6 separate regions of the Homo sapiens genome follow, and all the other regions are linked to region 3. Evidence: promoter capture Hi-C in 16 types of primary human blood cells and fetal thymus (Javierre and others, 2016). All regions are on one chromosome and are shown on one strand. Each heading gives the region's core, a stretch centred on a gene start or on the middle of the fragment in contact. The rest is flanking DNA. Distances are from core to core; before and after follow the strand shown. Region 1 overlaps MRPS18C (mitochondrial ribosomal protein S18C). Region 2 holds the start of HNRNPD (heterogeneous nuclear ribonucleoprotein D). Region 3 holds the start of RCHY1 (ring finger and CHY zinc finger domain containing 1). Region 4 overlaps THAP9 (THAP domain containing 9). Region 5 overlaps CENPC (centromere protein C). Region 6 holds the start of HNRNPDL (heterogeneous nuclear ribonucleoprotein D like).

Region 1 (3,168 bases), core at 414-2,913, 7.9 Mb after region 3:
AATCTGTAATTGCCTTTGACTGTTTTAGTGTCGTCTAATCCACTCCTTTAAAGTATTTAAACGTATGAGGAAGTTGGAGTGGTTCTTAAAAAGCAGAGACTTTCCTAAGATCTCTGGATAATCTTAGTGAGGAAGGGACATTTCCAGAGTCGCCCAGCAGCAAATTCCAGATGTCTAAGGTCCCCAAACAGAACAAAATTGCATAATTTTTGCAATTTTATCTTCTCTGTGCTTCTCTATAAATTCTTTCTGGGACGGGTCTGTTACTTTCTTTTTGGTATGACAGTGCCTTTCTGTTGCTTCTCCTATAAGAATTTGCATTAAGAATTTTCTCTAACCATGGAATGAAGGGAAAATAAATGTCAGAAAGAGCAGGTATGGGCGGGAAAATATGTTCTTTTCCCCCTAAGCCCTGGAAAGCACACCCATGTTGAGTCTTACTCTGTCCCAAATATAAAAGTTTTTAACCATTCTGAATATAATACAAAACCTTTCTTTAATATCGTGTCCCTTAATTCATCCTGTCTCCATAAAAACAAAAATCTTTAGCTATTCAGCTAAGAAAAAGAAATGGTTAATTGCTGTTTCTGTTTAATCGCAGTGCTTTGGAGAAGAGGTTGTTCACAACAGGTATCCAGCAATGAGGACCTGGTAAGAATTTTTTTTTCTATTAGTAAGGCCTTTGCAAATATGACCAAAATGTTTTTCTTTTTAAAACGAGATCTGGTATTAGACTCTAACATCTTTTATTTTAGCTACTTGAATAGAGTTCTGCCGTAGGACAAAACAATTTGATAATTACTCTGAGTTCAGAAATGATGATGAATTGATTGTAGTCATGTAGTCAGCTGAGTTTTGAAGTAGGGGAATTCCTAGATTAGAAGCAAAGCTGCTATAATACCATATTTTTCTTCCTAGATCTTAAATTTAAGGATATGTGATTTGGGAATTGTTTTTTTTTTTTTTACATAGCCCTTTGTAAGCAAATGATATGGGAATTTTAAAAGGTAGTTTGGGTGAGCAGAATTTTAGATAACTGAAAAGAGACTGTACAAAGCTTAGCTATAGGTTGGCTATAGTATTAACATGGACTTTCTGAAAGCACAGGTTCTTGCTACATGCAAAGGTATTTTGACACTAATTAGACCATACAAAGCACTTGGCACAGAGCTGAAGAGTAGTTACGTGAGCTGAATGTAAATTGGAAAGTTTGAGGAATTGGAAAAAACAAAAGAACTTGTCTAGTTTCTCTGAGCATCTGTCTTGGTAATCTAATCCATGCACCATACTTTAAGAAAGTAAAGGGACATTATTTCTTTTTTAGTTCATAAATCCCACTTTGTCTCTAATCAAAGTTATGGACCCTCTCCACAGAAAAAGGCACACAGTCCCATTCATTTGAAGTTTTGCATACGATTACAGGGAGTCATGGGCTTCAAAGCCATTTCTAGATTAAGAACCTCTATCCTGGAGACAGCCATACTGACTGTAGGAAGGAGGCACTGTGACAAAAGCATTAGAGGCAGTGGTGGTAACAGAAAAGCCAAAAAGACTGATACAAACTTATATAGTAGCCTGGGGTGATAAAGTCAAAGAACCTTTTATTACAGTAAGTCATGGGCCATTATCTGTGTATAAAAATAGTGATAAAATACTTGATAGAGACATGGGGATGGATAAATTAGGGATTGTACTCATTTAAGAATGGCATATGTTATCTATTGTGTTGTAAGTTTCCTTAAATCTAAAAATTTTTTCATTATCTACAATCTGAGCAAAGCATTGGAACACTTTCTTATCAGACATCATTTTTGTTCTGCCATAAAATTTTATTCTATGAAGATTGTACTTTATTCCAGAATCTTCCCATGCGTTAATCCGTAGGCTAAACTAAAACAAAATAAAGTGCTTATACAAAATATGTACACAGTAAGAAAGGTATAACTAATCCTTTGAATGGATTTGAATGTAGAATAGTAACCTTTTAAAATTCAGAATTAACACATCCTATTATCAGACTTTTCGTTTTTTTCCCTAGCCCATTTCAATGGAAAATCCTTATAAAGAACCTCTTAAGAAATGTATCTTGTGTGGAAAGCATGTAGATTATAAGAATGTACAGGTGAGATCTGGTTTTACTTCACTATATTTTAGGGTTTTGCTTCTGATAGATCTGCTTAAAGAGAATCAAGTCAGTTTATAGCAGGCTTTTGTAGAGGTAACTGTTTTAGCAACTTCATAATTTCAAATTTGGTTATAATTCTATGTATAAGCTTATCTCTGCTTTATTCAAGTAAAAGCACCTTGGCTTTCCCCCACTTACTGTTATTTCCACTCTGTTTTTTTCACTACCCCAAACATCTTAATAGCTCCCTGTGGCAGTAATTCTCAATTGGTGAGGGTCAGAACTTTGGAAAAAGCTCATCTGGTGAAGCTGATCTCTTTATCTCACCACCCATATCACTGATTCACATATTACTTATCTCTTGTCTAACTCTCAGCAAGTTAGAAGTTGCAAATTTGGGGCAAGTGAATAGCGCTAGAATTCTGTATGTTGGCTGGGTGTGGTGGCTCACGCCTGTAATCCCAGCACTTTGGGAGGCCAAGGCGGGCGGATCACCTGAGGTCAGGAGTTTGAGACCAGCCTGGCCAATGTGGTGAAACCCCGTCTCTATTAAAAATACAAAAATTAGCTGAGTGTGGTGGTGCATGCCTGTAATCCCAGCTACTTGGGAGGCTGAGGCAGGAGATTTGCTTGAACCCAGGAGGCGGAAGTTGCAGTGAGCTGAGATCGTGCCATTGCACTCCAGCCTGGGTGACAAGAGTAAAACTCTGTCAAAAAAAAAAAAAAAAAAAAAAAAGAATTCCATATATTGACAATAGTATAAAGTGATAGCTGCCTTTGAGGAAGAACCAAGAATTACAAAAACACACATACTAGGAAGATTATGCAAAGTGCCAAGAATAATGACTAGCACCTAGAAAGGTTCTAAAGAAGTATTTAAATAAAACATAAATTATAGCAAATGCCTGGTGTACTTGTACCTCTTGAAAATCTCATTACCCCCTGATAATTTATCTTAATGATTATCAGAGGGTAATGTGATAGCTTGTCAGGATAGATGAAATTTTTTAGTAGCTTGTTTCAAGCAATATTTTAGAAAGGTA
Region 2 (3,043 bases), core at 263-2,762, 6.9 Mb after region 3:
ACAGATATCAAGACACCAAAATAGGATCCTGGGCACCGGGAAAAAAAGGGGGCTGGGGGTTGTAAAAAATTAGGTTGCACATAAAAAGTAAGGTACAATCTGTACTAACAGTTGGGGAACCCAATAGCTGAGGGCGCGAAAAGGGTGCGCGGTTAGAATAACTCAGTGGGGTGGGGGAAGGGTAGATGCTAGGCCGGAGATAGGAACAGCTCCAGTCAAGTGCAGGCCCGATCGACTAAGAACTTAACCAGAGCCCGCGGAGCAAAACCAATGTACCAACAAGAAACTCGGAGCATTTCACCAGACCCAATTTGGTCTGCATGTCAAAATGTAGGGCCTGTATGAGTATGCCATTGTGCGATAGCGTATGGTGGAGAAAATGAGTAAATCCTTAGGCGAAACTTATTCAAAATCCCAAGAAAACAGTCGGCCTAAGGCCGACAAGGGAGAGGCAGAGGTGGACAGCCTACGCGTTCCCCAAAACATGTGCTTATAAACAATCGCATCGTTTCAGGATGGTGGAGAAGCACCAAATAAACCTTAGTAATACAAACAGAGAAGCTGTTTGTGTCTGTGTTTTTATGCCCAAGACTGTAGAAAAAGGGAAAAAGAGGGGACAGCATGGAAAGAAAAAAGGTACCCCACGACAGGCGGGAAAAAATCCTGGCGGCTAAGTCGGTGGGAGGAGACCCATGGCGAGGGAGGAAAGGAGGGCGGGCCGAGGAGCAGCATGGTGACGGCTAAAGGTGGAAACGTGTGTGATGGGGGAGGGGGGCGATAAGCAGGCAAAGGAAGAAGGAAATGAAGGTCCGGGGAACCCAACATAGAAAAAGGGAGACCAGTGCAAGGAGGCTGCATGGGGGCCCGGAGAACGGGCTGAGAGCGGGAACCAGGCCTAATGGCGGGGGAATAAAGAGGGGGAGGGGGACTAGTTGGGCCTGACTATCCTGGGATGCCCCTTACTCACCCTTCATCCTCCTCGTTCTTACTGGCGTCAATCTTCGCCCCCTCCGACTCGGCGCTGCCCCCTTCGGTGCCTCCAGACGCGGTTCCGCCCCCGGTCCCGGCTCCGCTTCCCGCCGCCGCCGCTGCCCCCTGTGTCGCCGCCACCATGGCTCCCTCCTGCTCGCCCGCCGAGCCGCCTACCGCCGCCGTTGCCGCTGCCGCCGCCCCGTCCCCGCCGAACTGCTCCTCCGACATAGTGCTAGTGTCTCCGCCGCTGCCGCCGAGACTACACCCGCCGCTGCCGCGAACCGAAACTAGCAGCAAAGTAATCCCCGCCGCTGCCGCGCGCCCGCTCTACCTCGCGAAGCACACAAGACAGGGAAGGCGCGCGCGTGGCTGCAAAGGCTCCTGCGCCTCTCCCTGGCCTGCCCCCTTCGCCTCCCACTCTCGCGCGGCGCACACTCCCGCTCTCTCCCGCTGCACTAAAAAAGAATAAGCACCAGCGGCGGCCGCTCTCGCCTCCTCCTCGCTTTAATGGCGCCGCCGCGGACCACCTAAAATGGCCGACGGAAGAACGGCGCGTCCCGGTCACGTGACGCGAGAGCGCGCCCTTCGCGCGTCCCCCCACCCCTATCCCCCTAGTTTTTTTTTTTTCCCTTTCCTCCTCGGTCCCGCCCTCTCGCTACCCTTTATACCTTCCTCTCACGCTCCGCGTTGCACAGCCTTGGGGGCCTTTAAAAGGAACCGGAAGTGTCGTGAGCTAAGACAGTCGCGCGGGGACCATCGAGAACAAGGAGTGCTGTTTCGAAGTAGCGGCTAGAGGGGCCCCCTGCCTCCGCCCCCGCCCTTCCGAGGATTCCTGGAGTCCACTCACCCCTCCCCACCACTCCAGTAGCGGCGGGAGCAGCAGCGTTAGGCCGGGGTGTGGCTGCACCTCTGCGAAGGCTGTCGTGCCCCGTGCAGCTGCGGCGTTCGGGTGGGGGAGGGGAGGCTCACACCCTGCGGCGGCTTAAGCCTGGATTTACGCACTGGAGGAGGGAATTAGCCCTGAGATGTCAGCCCTGTGCCCCTGGCGCTGTCCACCCGGACGCCCGCGGAGCGCCAGGCGCCGCAGCGGACCGCGCGCGCACTGATTGCCGCAGCTACTCTCCCTGCCGTCGCCGCCCGGGACCGGGTGACATTGAGGTTTTCGTCTATCGCCGCTGGGCCGATAGGGCTTCTTTTTAAGATTTGGCTTTCCAAGTAAGATTTTTGTTTGCCTGCTTTTCTCCTGGAATTTTTTTGTTTTTGGTCGAAGAAGCAGGTAACTTGCATATCTTAAGGAAAACATTGTTTTTGCTTTGCTTTTGTTGTTTAAAGATCCTAAAACGTACCGTGATTCCTTTACGTTACTAATAATTGGAAAGTGTGTTAAATCAAGGGTTCGCTTAATGTTCTTTAGCCTTTGTACATAGAATATATAAATGTCGTGAGTCATCTTTACGAGGTTTATGAGTTTGTGTTCGGGTTTGGCTTTTTTGTTGTGTGTGCGTGGTTTTTTTTTTTCTTTTCTTGTAACACCGTTAGGCGTTTCATTAAGGTGTATAAAAAGTAATTTTATACACCTATTAAAAATTCCCGCTGCCTCGGCTGGAGACTGGATTATTCGGGCTTTGGGATTTGCTGCTTCCAGCAGTATCCTTAGAAGAAAATGAAGCTTCTAGGTACTTCTGTAGTCAACAAATAATTATTTGCCTGTTTAATTAAAGTGTTCGGGCACGGGGGAAACAAAGACGAGTTTGCAGACTCCAGCAAAAATCTTAAGAGTTTAAGTATTTGGGCCGGGCGCGGTGGCTCACGCCTGTAATCCCAGCACTTTGGGAGGCCGAGGCGGGCGGATCACGAGGTCAGGAGTTCGAGACAAGCCTGACCAACATGGTGAAACCCCCGTGTCTACTAAAAATACAAAAATTAGCCGGGCGTGGTGGCCGGTACCTGTAATCTCAGGTACTCAGGAGGCTGAGGCAGGAGAATCGCTTGAACCCGGGAGGTGGAGATTGCAGGGAGTCGAGATCATGCCACTTGCACTCCAGCCTGGGCGACAGAGCGAGACTCCGTC
Region 3 (2,993 bases), core at 478-2,977:
CCCCAAGAATACCCTATAAGTGCTATTTTCAATTCCACTCCTCCCATTCTTTCCTAAATTCACTCTAATCCTGATCTCTCCACTAAAACTCCTCTTGTCAAGATCACCAGTGACCTCTTCCTTGCCAAATCCAAAGGGCAATTCTCAGTTATCTTACTCAAACAGCTGCATTTGACCCAGCTGACCACATCCTCCTTGAAATACTTCACTTGGCCTCTGGTATTTAAGGGGGGGGGGGGGGCGGGGGAAGGCAAAAACTGTTTGACACCTAGGGCGAAGTATCTTAGTGCTATGATACACAGATCTAATTGTGTGGTTTATGGGGGGCACCAAGATGTTAAATTCCGTTTTAGACCTCAAGTTTGAAAGAATAATAATACATCTCAGTAGAAATTGAATCATAAGGATAGCATTCAATTTCCTTACACAACACTTGGTGGATGACCAACATTTTTAAGGAGCTTCATCCAGTTCAGTGGAGCAATGTTCGTCAAGCCATGACCTATAGAAAAGAGTTTAGGATGCACGTACAGGCCTGAGACTTGAACTTGCTTCTAATAATGAGGCAGTGACCAGCAAGGCTGACTTGTGAAGTGAAAGAACAAAAAATAATAATACTCAGATTGACGATGATAGTAACAGTCATGGTGGTATATATTTACTACTCATTTACTTCAGGGAATGCGCCCTGTTAAACACTATACACGCCCTTTAGTATATAATCCTCATACACTTTTATGAAACAGGCGCGATCATCTCCATTTTACATACGGGGTAGAGAGGAGCTAGCTAAAATCAGTTATTAAAGAGGAGAGCTAAGATTTGGGGATAGGGCGGTTGAGGTTCCAAAGCTCAAGTTTTCTAAGCAAAATTTTTGTACTGTTTCTTGCAAGGAAAATCAGGAAACTTCAATTGAATACGTGCCAATTTAAAAAAAAATACAGATTAAGAAGTTTTCTCAGAGTAACAATACATGCTTATTAGGCACTTTCCTATGCATAATTTCCTATTTAATGGCAATTACATGATTGTCTTCTTTTTTGGGACACACGTTTTCTCCTACGTCTGAACATGTGCACTGCCTTTAACATGAAGCTGGCAGGCTATAAAACTTTACCACAGGAGCTGAAATCGTATTCGGGTTCTCCACTTGCTTATTTCCATTATCTCCACTTCCATTATTTCATCACACACCTGAACGGAAAACCCCAGTACAGGCCCGGGGCTGCCTCAGTCTACTTCGGCAGCAAAAGACGAATAAGCCCACTGGCAGAGACCACTGTGCAAGCCTAATCACTTCCCAAGAAGGGTTTTGCTTTAAAGGTACGAAGCAGGTAGGAAAGGTGGGGCTTATCGCCTTGCCAAAAACGTTCTCCTCAAGAAGAACCCAGTTCCAGGTGGAAAAGGTATCCTGAAAATCAGGTTAACCTCAAACTTAAATCCAAGCCTAACCACCTGCCCAGCCCGCCCCAGCCCAACCTGACGGAAGCTTGTCAGGGAAGAGTCCATAGAAGGCGTCACCTTTAGGAGACATCCTCTGTCATAGTGCTCGCAGCCCCGCTGACCTCGCTCTTGACCGCTGGCGCCATCTTCCCGGGCCGTCGCCGCCATCTCCTCCACCTCCCCTCACATTCCACCGATCCTTCCCCCAGGATAAAAACCACGCCCAGAGAAGCTGCGCCTCTCTAGCACACCCCTCCCAGCCCCAGCGGCCACTAGCGACAATATGGCTCCTAAGCACGTGACCCGGGGCAGACGGATTTCCGGTTCCCGGGGCTACGAGGCGGAAGCGAAGGCAGACGCAGTCTCCGTCGTTGACGTTAGTCGCAGTCTTCGCTGCTAACGGTAATAACTCTTAGGTTGCCTGTTTTCCCCCAATCGCTACCCGCCCAAATCTCAGGGCGTAGTTCGGCGCGAGGTTGGCGGCAGCGGCGCGGAGACGCTGGTTGGCCCCAGAGGAAAGGACGCTCACTGGGCGCATCGTTACCTGTGACGGGTCCTCCCTCTCTCCCTCCGGTGGCGGGGAGCCTGGAGAAAGGGGCGGAGCTCGGCCCGGGCCCTGGGCTCAGCGGGTCCCGCGCGCTGCTCTTGGACGCCAGGGTGCTCGCTGGCACCTCGAAGTGCTTCTTGCTTCCTCCCTTTCCCGTTTACTTGCTGTTCTTTCAAAATATGTACTGACATTCACTATTGCCAGTCACCAGCTAAACCGTGAGGACAAAAAGTAAGGAAAAATAGACACACTCCACCATGACCTCATGGAACTAACAAGACTGGTGGAGGAGGAAGACATTAATAAGAGCAATCACTGCAATAAATGTAAGATTACAACCTGGAGAAGTGCTAGGAAGAAGTGTGTGTCCTGTGAGAGCTAATATTAGAGCAGCTCTGACAATCTGAGTGTCAGTGAGGGAAGGCTTCCCTGGGGAAGCGATGCAAGCCGAGGGCTGAAAGATGGGTAGGAGTTAGTGTGCAAAAGGCTTTGTGGCACAAAGAACATGGTACCTGTTAGAAGGTGGAAGGAAAATGTACAAGCCAACAAAATTGAAATCATACTCGGGGTACACAGCTAAATATGTTTCTCCTTATTAAAGAGTCAAGGCCCTGGAAAATGATGTAAGCAAAGCTGCAGGTGTTAGAAGAAGATATTTGTCTTTAGCTTTCTATCCTGATTTTGTGTTTCCTAAAACACCGGGAAAGGGAAAATATTCCCCTTCAGCTTTCCGGTTACTAACTCTTAACATTCTAATTTTCTTTCAGTTTTGTTATGAGTTGCTAAAATGGTGAAATGCTGCTCCGCCATTGGATGTGCTTCTCGCTGCTTGCCAAATTCGAAGTTAAAAGGACTGACATTTCACGTGTAAGATTTTGCTGTAGTTAAGCCAAATACTTTGGCCATGTTATAAAAAGCAAAAGACAGTTCTACTTAAGTCTTCAATTTTGAACTTTAGTTCCCGAGTCCTTTTTAAATAACCTTTTTGTTAAATTTGAAGTGA
Region 4 (2,775 bases), core at 1-2,500, 7.4 Mb after region 3:
TATCTCCCAGGCTCAAGTGATCCTCCCACCTCAGCCTCATGGGACTACAGGCACAGACCACCATCCCGGCTTTTTTTTTTTTTTGGTAGAGATGAGGTCTCAGTGTGTTGCCCAGGTTGGTCTCCAACTTCTTGGCTGGGATTACAGGCATGAGCCACCCTGCCCAGCCCCAGCCTTTTTCATAGCATTTTACGCATAGGAAATAATTGTTCAATACTTTGGGGCAAACCTACAGCACTGTTTGGGGCTGCCTTCAAGTAACTACTCAGGTGTCCCAGCCCACCCCATGGACTAAGAATATCAACAGCTGTACTCACTAGGCATACCTGTTGGGAAGCTTTGCATCAGAGGACCACGCTAGTAATAGAAGTTGTTGGACCAGCCAACTTTTGAGGGTTCCTTGCACGTTTAGAGACTATACCCAATCTGTGGAAAAGCTCCCTTGCAAAATATGTTCCATGAGTTAGAAAAGAACTCAGTGAAAAAAGATAGATTTGCCCCAACTTTATTGGAAAAAGAATTCCCTGTTCATTTGCCCTTGATCAAGTATCATCATCTTCTTAGAACAATAAAATTATAATCCCAGAAATGGAATTAGTTGTTCTTAGGAAAGATCGAACTTTGGATAGTACTTTACAGTTTACAAAGTGATTTTGAATACATTTGTAGCCTCATACACTCTTACTACAGCCCTGTGAGGAAGTTCTAAGATTGAGAGATGTGTCTAATACCATATAGCTGGTAGAAGGTCACTGAAGCTTAAATACAGGTTTTCCAATTCAGAGTTCTTTCTCAAGGTGATTTAGAGAGCATATCAGAATTATGTTTTACCATGCTGCTATATTTTTGTAGCATTTAGCTGAGAAATAAAATTTATACCAATCTCAGTTCTAGTAACTATGTGTTTTAAAGTCTAAATTAAAATACACAAAAAGCATAGTTACCTATAAGTCTGTCTCTAAGATAACGTCAAAGAAGAAGGGGCAGAAAGAGTAGTTTTGTGCTTTTTATTGTGTTAATTTCACAAGTTTCTTTTTCTTTTCTTTTTTGAGATGAAATCTTGCTGTCGCCCAGGCTGGAGTGCAGTGGCACTATCTTGGCTCACTGCAACTTTGCCTCCCAGGTTCAAGCGATTCTCCTGCCTCAGCCTCCCTAGTAGCTGGGATTACAGGTGGGAGCCACCAGGCCCGGCTAATTTTTGTATTTTTATTAGAGACAGGGTTTCACCATGTTGTCCAGGCTGGTCTTGAACTCCTGACCTCAAGTGATCCGCCCGCCTCGGCCTCCCAAAGTGTTGGGATTACAGGCGTGAGCCACCACGCCTGGCCGACAAGTTTCTAAACATAATTTGGCTTGGATTGAAAAATAAATAAATGCAAGGTAATTTTTATAATCAAGGCTAGGAAAAAGTAGTGCCTTTAAACATGAAAAAACAATATAGTAAATATACTTGTCTTGTTTTCTACTGCTGCATAACAAGTTACCTCAAAATTCAGTATAAACATTTTTATCTCACACATTTCTGAGGGTCAGGAATTCAGGAGTGTAGCTCGATGTTACAGTATCTCATAAGATTGCACTCATCTGAAGGCTGAAGTCACCTGCTTTCAAAAAGACTAACTCAACATGGCCTTTGACTGGAGGCCTCAGTTCCTCACCAACTAGTTTTCTCCACAGGACTGCTTTATAACATGCCAGATACCTTACCACAGAGCAAACCATTCTCTACAGAGAGCAAGGAGGAAAGCTTGTTCCTTTATGACGTAGTCTGTGGTCACTTACTGTCACATGTTCTTTTTCCATTCCTTAGCAAATCACTAACTCTAGCCCATACTCACTCAAGGGGAGGGGAATTAGGCTCCCCCTTTTTTTTTTTTTTTTTTTTTTTGTTACGGAGTTTCACTCTTGTTGCCCAGGCTGGAGTGTAATGGTGCGATCTCGGCTCACTGCAGCCTCCACCTCCGGATTCAAGAGATTCTCCTGCCTCAGCCTCCCCAGTAGCTGGGATTACAGGCACCCGCCACCACGTCCGGCTAATTTTTTATATGTTTAGTAGAGACGGGGTTTCACCATGTTGTCCAGGCTGGTCTTGAACTCCTGACTGCTGATCCTCCCGCCTCAGCCTCCCAAAGTGCTGGGATTACAGGCATGAGCCACTGCACCCAGCCAGGCTTCACTTCTTAAAAGGAAGAGTACCAAATAGTTTAAAATCACTACAGGAAAGGAAAAGATGCATATATTCTTTAACCATTTAAATTTGAGCAAATTCTATTAAGTGTAGGAAGTGAAGACAAAATATAGTAGGATTTTTAATATGGGAATTGCCCCTCTATGATTGACAAAGAAAAATCAGATATTGAACCTTTGGATTAAAAAAAATCAAAGAACTTTGAAAAATGAACTAAGTAAATTAAACTTTTAATTCACTTGGCTTTATGTTTCTATAAAGCAGTAAAATAATAGATGGGTTTATATAATAAATACTACTGTAATAGTACTATAATGTTTTCATGTTAATGGAACTTTAATGTGATTGTCATAGATTTCCAACTGATACCATACAGCGCTCAAAATGGATCAGGGCTGTTAATCGTGTGGACCCCAGAAGCAAAAAGATTTGGATTCCAGGACCAGGTGCTATACTGTGTTCCAAACATTTTCAAGAAAGTGACTTTGAGTCATATGGCATAAGAAGAAAGCTGAAAAAAGGAGCTGTGCCTTCTGTTTCTCTATACAAGGTATTTAAATGTAGGTGTAAGTCAACAAAATGAAAAT
Region 5 (2,887 bases), core at 130-2,629, 8.0 Mb before region 3:
TTCAATCAGTATAAAATTGACATGCATCTCTAACAGAGTGGACAAACTTTTGCTTAAAGGGCCAGATGGTAAATATTTTAGGCTTGTAAACCATAGTCTCTGTCACAACCAGTCGACTCTCCCATTCTAGCCCAAAAGCAACCACAGACAGTATGTAAACAAAGAGGCATGGCTGTGTTCCAATAAAATTGAAATAAAACCTGTGACAAAACATTTGGCTGGCCTATCAGCCAGAGTTTACTGATCCCTGATCTACAACATTCCTATTATTGAGAGCTGGAAAAGTACTATATATGCAGTAATTAAAAACTGTGAGCCACAGTGCATTATCAGGTCATCCATCATAAAGTTTTATAACTGAAAGATCTCAGAAATCATCCAGTCCAATAATCATCATCCAAATAGATGTGTAAAGTTACTTTTGGAGCTTTGCAGAAATACACTTAATTGGTCACTTCCCACAAACCAATTTAATTAGATTTCCTAGGGTGATGGAGGTAATTCTGATGTGCAAATCTAGTTAAAAACCCCTAGCTGAATCCTATGCCCTCATTTTGCAGATAGGCAAACTGAAACCCAAAATGGTCAAATGGCCTACCTCAGTTTGTAAACCTAAGTAGTATTAGTGGCCGGTTTTCTACCAGAATATATATAGGTGACTATTATAAATTCTGGCCTTGACATCACCCCAAAATACCACCTACAGGTGCACATATTGCACAGCTATAAATACACTCCTGCTATTACCTGTTTCAAGGATGAGATCCAAAAAGATCAGATTTGCCAAGGTGATAATGCAGAGTCACTATTAGAACGCAGGTCACATTAGGCAACAGCTTTTTCAAAATTTATCAAATTCGTCTTTTCTTCCCCTTTGTCATTATTACCTTAGCATAAAAGCACCTCCACCATGTGTAGATTACTACAACACCCTCCTTAAGCTACTTTGTAAACATCAAACATCTTTGCTTTTTTAAATGTGTGTGTGTGTTTATATCAGATAGCCCTTATTCCACAGAAGATTTAGGAGAGCTTATTCAAGCCTATAATAGATGCCTAAAGCCTAACATATCCATTTTATGGCTCAATCCAACTCATATGGTCTTGTTTTCCACTTCTACCCAACATATTCAACCTTCTTAAATCAGGTCTCTCTGCTACTGACAAATATATGTATTCCTACTTTGGTTCCTTCGTTAAGTTACTTTCTATGTCTGGAATATACTTTATCTTAGTCTTTAAATACCTGTTCAAGGTCCACCAAAGTTACACTACAACTTTAAAGCTTTTCTTAATATCAACAACACACAAATCCCTAATTTCTCACATGGCTGTCTATACTGCAAGTTAATGCCTAATTATATATAGGCCTACTCTCTATGATACACAAGTCATTACTTCAGTATTGCAAGTAATAATTTTTGTCCATTAAATTGTTTCACAAATGTACATATACATTTTCCCAACAGAAATCTAAGCTTCTTGTAAACAAAAGAACATACTTCTGTGCCCCATTGGACCTACTAAAATCACAGCTCAATAAACATGACGTTATTCATAATAACATCTTCACTTTTAAAAACATGCTTTTCATCCTATTACTAGTAAATATTTAACTAGAAAATTTACTTTTTACAGGTTTTACAACTAAAAGAAGAACCAAAACAACCCAAACAAGCACTCAACAAATGCACGACAGCATGTACTATTTTTCTTTTTGCCCCACTGAATAAGCTACATCTTTCTAATTTTACCATTTGATTCATTCTACAAAATGCTTTTCCCATGGCAGTCACTTAGTCAGAACTGAGACTCCCTCTTCCTGGTTCCACTATTTTATCAGGTGAATTTCTTTTTTCACAGCCACAAAGTCATTGCACTGCTTGCATTAACATTCCCGTTAGTATAAGATGACTACCCTTAATCAGTGGGCACAGAAATCATTATATTAGTCAGAGGTGATAGTTTTTCCTTTCTTCATTTAAAAATCTATTAACGATGAGAATAAAAATAATCTTAAAAGCTTAAGTACGTAAATCACCTGGAAGGTCGACAAAATCTTCTTCTGTAGCCATTTTTGAGATGATCCTGAAAGAAAAGTAAATCATCAATTTGGTTTCTTTAAGATAGAGTCGAGTAAAATTTATTTTCAAAGTAACTTCATCCAGTATGGGCATGCTATACACCAAACATCTCCTAAGGGCTCAAAACAATTTTGAGGTTATGTTATGACATAACATAGGTTATGACAGGCATTTAAAAACTGAACTGCAGGCATCTGGTAAGCTTTATTCCGCTTCTCTCCCCACAGTGAGAATGGCTTTATTGCTTTCTTCTGATTATATATAATGTAAACAATATATGTGCTCATAGTAAAAAGTATAGATTATATTATTCTTTCATACAACTCTTTATGTTTATATGTATAACGTCACATAATGGGAGATCATCGAAGCTGAAGATTTTCTTAGAAGGGGAGATAAATTAGAAAAGAAATGATACGGATTTTTATATAGTAACCATAACCAAAGTATGAAATATAGAATAGTGAACACCAAAGAAGTCCAGAAATATGTAAACAAAATGAGTTGTCGCCCCCATTAGTCATTCACAGCTTGTACCTTTTAACTGATAGCTGTCTTTCAGAAGAGTTTGTCAATAACATATGCTCCATAAATCAGCCTCAAGAACTGCATAAAAGGCCACCATTTTGACAGAAGAACTGAAAACGTCAAATTATTTCGAGACGTACTTGTTACATAATCTGTTTCTCCCAACTACCAAGTGTGACGCAAAGACACACTTTTAAGGCGTTTCAATACTTCTACCATGGGGAGAAAAGTTATTTGGAGGCCTAGGAACTGGAGCTAGACTAAAAAGCAGAAGC
Region 6 (3,164 bases), core at 220-2,719, 6.9 Mb after region 3:
CGCGGCCAGTCTGCTCCGGAAAAAGGCGGACTGCGCCCGGCGCTGGCGACTGAGGCGGCGAGCGCGCTCGCCCGCCGCGCGCACGCGTGTTTTGTCCTCGAGCTGGCAGGAACCAGCCGAACAGGAAGCGGGCGCGCGACGGCTCCTCCGGGCAGCGCAGCGCGGGCGCCTCTTCCACTGTGACCACGGGCGCGCGGGCCAAGGGGGCGCGGCGGGGCCTCCCGGGCTGATCGGCCGAAGCCCGGGCCCCGCGCGGCCTCTGGCGGGCTGACGCCGGGAGGAGGGGCGGGGGCTGGCCAGATGACTGTATCTATGCAAAGGCGGAGGCGGTGGGCGGGGAGGGGGCTGGATTCAGTAGAGGGCAAGGGGCACTCACATCCCCGGCGCGCCACTCGCGGGGCTCCTTTCTGCACGTGCCCCGGGCCTCTCCCGCTCGCTCAACCTGTCTGCGGAGGGCGCGCTCTCGCGCACCCTGCTCCCGCGTTCGCTTCTTTGTTCCCGCCCACGCGAGGCCCATTTTGACGGATCCAGTTCGAGGCCTGACGGCGGCCAATCGGCGCTGGCGCCTTCACCCTCCCCGCCCCGCCGAACCCGTCAAGGGCCGCCCCTTTTCCTGCCCACGTGGTCTCGGGCTCCTGCCCCGTCCTGCTCACGAGTTCAGGGCTCCTGGGCGGCCGCCTTTTCCAGTTCCAGGTGTGCAGAAGTGTCCTCTCCCCACGCGCGGCGGGCTGCACTTGGTCGCTGGCTCCGAGATCGCGCGGGGCCGCCGGAAGCCCAAGACGGTACCGGGGGCCGCAGCCGCAGCCGGCGCCGCCCTCCGCCCTCCCCAACAGCAGGCCGAGTCCCGTAGCATCCGGTAGGGAAATGGTCGTGCTTTCGGTCCCCGCCGAAGTCACCGTGATCCTGTTAGATATCGAAGGTACCACAACCCCGATTGCTTTCGTGAAGGTGAGGGGCGGAAGGGAGCGGGGATGTTACTTTTCCTTAAAAACAGTTATTATTTTTTCTAAGTATTTCAGGCCTTGCATTGGAGACGAGGGTTAGGAGAGGCGGTGTGGCTGCCTCTTGTGTGGAATGGGGAGGAAGGAGAGAAAGCCTGCGGTGGGTTGCGGGGATGCTTTTCCTCGCGACACTAGCTTCTCCCTCCCCCGCCCTTGCGCTTGGTTGGATCCAGATGGGTGGGAAGGGATGGAAGTTGACGCTAAAAATCACCGAAGGGCAGGTAAGCCGGGGCGGGGTGTGACGGTGCGGGCCTCGCCACCCGGCAGGTGTGCACCCGGTCGCTTCCGCAGGTGAGCGCAGCCTTTCTGCTCCGTCGGGCCTGGTGTGGCAGCGGCAGCGATTTAATGGTCCTTAAAGCTTCCGATCTCAAAATGGAAAGACTGAAGTGTCAAGATGACTTTTCAGGTGGCCCTGGTGTCGGGCAATCAAGGTTCCTCTTCGCCCCTTCCCACTCTTGCTGTTAGTGGCCAAACTGCACAGTGTATTATTTTACTCTGTTAGGCGCTGTGGTCCATAGCGCTGATTTTTTGAGCTATAGGACACGTCTAGATTCCGTTCACTTTCCTCAGAAAACCACAGAAGCTTGAAGCTCTTATCCAGAGCATTCCTTCTAGGATGTCACTGTGAACCAGCACTTGTCTGCACCTCAGCTTGCAACTTAGCGGATTCCTTCTTTATTCTTTGTCTGTTAGAATAAGCAAATATGAAATGTTACTTTAATTTTTGAAAGAATTCCTCGGGCCTTGTCTTTTTATTTGGCTCCCTGAGGTTTAAGAATTCATTGCAGATACAAGTACTTCTTAGAGGTGCTTGCATGCACAATAATAGTCGAGATATACAAAGTATATTACCAAGTAGGAAAAATCCATCTTCCAAGAAACTGAGCAGCTTGGGTTTTAAATTCTATTTTAGTTTCCATTTTTAAAAAAAATTATCTGTGAATAAGGCTTTTTTTTTTTTTTCTTTGAGAGTCTCACTCTGTTCCCAGGCTGGAGTGGAGTGGAGTGGTGCAATCACAGCTCACTGCAGCCTCTACCTCCTTGGGCTTAAGGCATCCTCCTGCCCCAGCCTCTCGAGTAGTTGGGACTGAAGGGAGAGCCACCATGCCTGGCTAATTTTTGTATTTTTTGTAGAGACGGGGTTTCGCCATATTGCCCAGGCTAGTCTGGAATTCTTGGCCTCCCAAAGTGCTGAGATTACAGGCATGAGCCAAGGCGCCTGGCCTGAATGAGTTTCTTGATGTAGGTTATAATATAAAATCCATGTACACTTTTAGGACACCAAACATAACAACCTTTAAAATTCTTTTAGAAGAATCACAGTACCTTGACATCTTAGCATAGGTTCAGAAGAAATCGAGTTTAGCATTTTCTCCACGGTTTTTGTTTTTGTTTTGAGGCGGAGTCTCGCTCTGTTGCCCAGGCTGGAGTGCAGTGGTGTGAGCTCAGCTCACTGCAACCTCTGCCTCCCAGCTTCAAGCGATTCTTCTGTCGCAGCCTCTCCAGTAGCTGGGATTACAGACATGTGCCACCACACCCAGCTAATTTTTATATTTTTAGTAGAAGAGGGTTTCACCAGGCTGGTCTCAAACTCCTGACCTCAAGTGATTCACCCACCTCAGCCTCCCAAAGTGCTGGAATTACAGGCGTGAACCATGGCACCCGGCCTCTTCCCCACGTTTTGTTTTGTTTTGTTTTGTTTTGTTTGAGACAGAGTCTTGTTCTGTCTCCCAGGCTGGAATACAGTGGTGCAACCTCTGCTTCCGGGGTTCAAGCGATTCTGGTGCCTCAGCCTTCCGAGTAGCTGAGATTACAGACGCGCACCACCACGCCCGGCTAATTTTTGTATTTTTAGTTGACCAGGCTGGTCTGACCTCAGGTAATCCTCCCGTGTCGGCCTCCCAAAGTGCTGGGATTATAGGCGCGAGCCACCGCGCCTGACCTTCCCCCACGTTTTTAATCACACCAGAGACCTCTGCGGAAAATTTCAGGACAAATACTGATGATTGATTAATTTCCTTTTTTTTTGGATTGTGACAGAGTAACCGCTTTCTTGGTTTTCAGAGAAAAAAGGAGTCCTCATTTTTGTAATTTATAGTTAACAGCTCACTCGTTCCACTCTGGCTCTCTCTTGCTTTCTGCGGTCATCAGGAGACCAAGGAT

Evidence for each region. The method cuts DNA at HindIII sites, captures the fragments that hold promoters and counts their contacts. A CHiCAGO score of 5 or more calls a contact.
Region 1: a fragment that was not itself captured here is called in contact with the fragment with the promoter of RCHY1 in region 3 in 1 of 17 cell types (non-activated CD4 T cells); the score reaches 5.4 in non-activated CD4 T cells.
Region 2: the fragment with the promoter of HNRNPD here is called in contact with the fragment with the promoter of RCHY1 in region 3 in 1 of 17 cell types (total CD4 T cells); the score reaches 6.2 in total CD4 T cells.
Region 4: a contact is called between a fragment that was not itself captured here and the fragment with the promoter of RCHY1 in region 3, in 1 of 17 cell types (non-activated CD4 T cells). The highest score is 5.2, in non-activated CD4 T cells.
Region 5: a fragment that was not itself captured here is called in contact with the fragment with the promoter of RCHY1 in region 3 in 1 of 17 cell types (total CD4 T cells); the score reaches 5.0 in total CD4 T cells.
Region 6: a contact is called between a fragment that was not itself captured here and the fragment with the promoter of RCHY1 in region 3, in 2 of 17 cell types (naive CD4 T cells and total CD8 T cells). The highest score is 5.4, in naive CD4 T cells.

What each region holds. Positions count from the first base shown.
Region 1 is chr4:83,456,308-83,459,475 of GRCh38, forward strand. MRPS18C (mitochondrial ribosomal protein S18C) reads left to right here. Exons shown (of 6, transcript NM_016067.4): 2 at 602-651; 3 at 2,039-2,122. Among named protein-coding and RNA genes, the nearest start is that of MRPS18C, 1.8 kb to the left of the region's middle. The HindIII fragment of the contact is 1,216 bases long and covers 1,056-2,271 here.
Region 2 is chr4:82,372,479-82,375,521 of GRCh38, forward strand. HNRNPD (heterogeneous nuclear ribonucleoprotein D) reads right to left here and starts at 1,513. Exons shown (of 9, transcript NM_031370.3): 1 at 968-1,513. The coding sequence starts at 1,200. HNRNPD-DT (HNRNPD divergent transcript) reads left to right here and starts at 2,090. Exons shown (of 2, transcript NR_183813.1): 1 at 2,090-2,187. RefSeq lists enhancers at 62-111, 1,472-1,641 and a silencer at 1,012-1,111. The HindIII fragment of the contact is 7,055 bases long and covers 1-2,639 here.
Region 3 is chr4:75,512,676-75,515,668 of GRCh38, forward strand. RCHY1 (ring finger and CHY zinc finger domain containing 1) reads right to left here and starts at 1,728. Exons shown (of 9, transcript NM_015436.4): 1 at 1,522-1,728. The coding sequence starts at 1,611. THAP6 (THAP domain containing 6) reads left to right here and starts at 1,798. Exons shown (of 5, transcript NM_144721.6): 1 at 1,798-1,845; 2 at 2,758-2,857. The coding sequence starts at 2,778. RefSeq lists enhancers at 837-1,767, 1,454-1,933, 1,768-2,698, 2,274-2,493. The HindIII fragment of the contact is 8,040 bases long and covers 1,488-2,993 here.
Region 4 is chr4:82,902,194-82,904,968 of GRCh38, forward strand. THAP9 (THAP domain containing 9) reads left to right here. Exons shown (of 5, transcript NM_024672.6): 2 at 2,543-2,738. Among named protein-coding and RNA genes, the nearest start is that of THAP9-AS1, 2.7 kb to the left of the region's middle. The HindIII fragment of the contact is 989 bases long and covers 757-1,745 here.
Region 5 is chr4:67,542,108-67,544,994 of GRCh38, forward strand. It overlaps CENPC (centromere protein C), which reads right to left. Exons shown (of 19, transcript NM_001812.4): 2 at 2,042-2,088. Among named protein-coding and RNA genes, the nearest start is that of CENPC, 2.0 kb to the right of the region's middle. The HindIII fragment of the contact is 193 bases long and covers 1,284-1,476 here.
Region 6 is chr4:82,429,966-82,433,129 of GRCh38, forward strand. HNRNPDL (heterogeneous nuclear ribonucleoprotein D like) reads right to left here and starts at 497. Exons shown (of 8, transcript NM_031372.4): 1 at 1-497. It overlaps ENOPH1 (enolase-phosphatase 1), which reads left to right and starts at 625. Exons shown (of 6, transcript NM_021204.5): 1 at 625-948. The coding sequence starts at 865. RefSeq lists enhancers at 1-752, 1,116-1,215 and silencers at 36-435, 556-875. The HindIII fragment of the contact is 225 bases long and covers 1,358-1,582 here.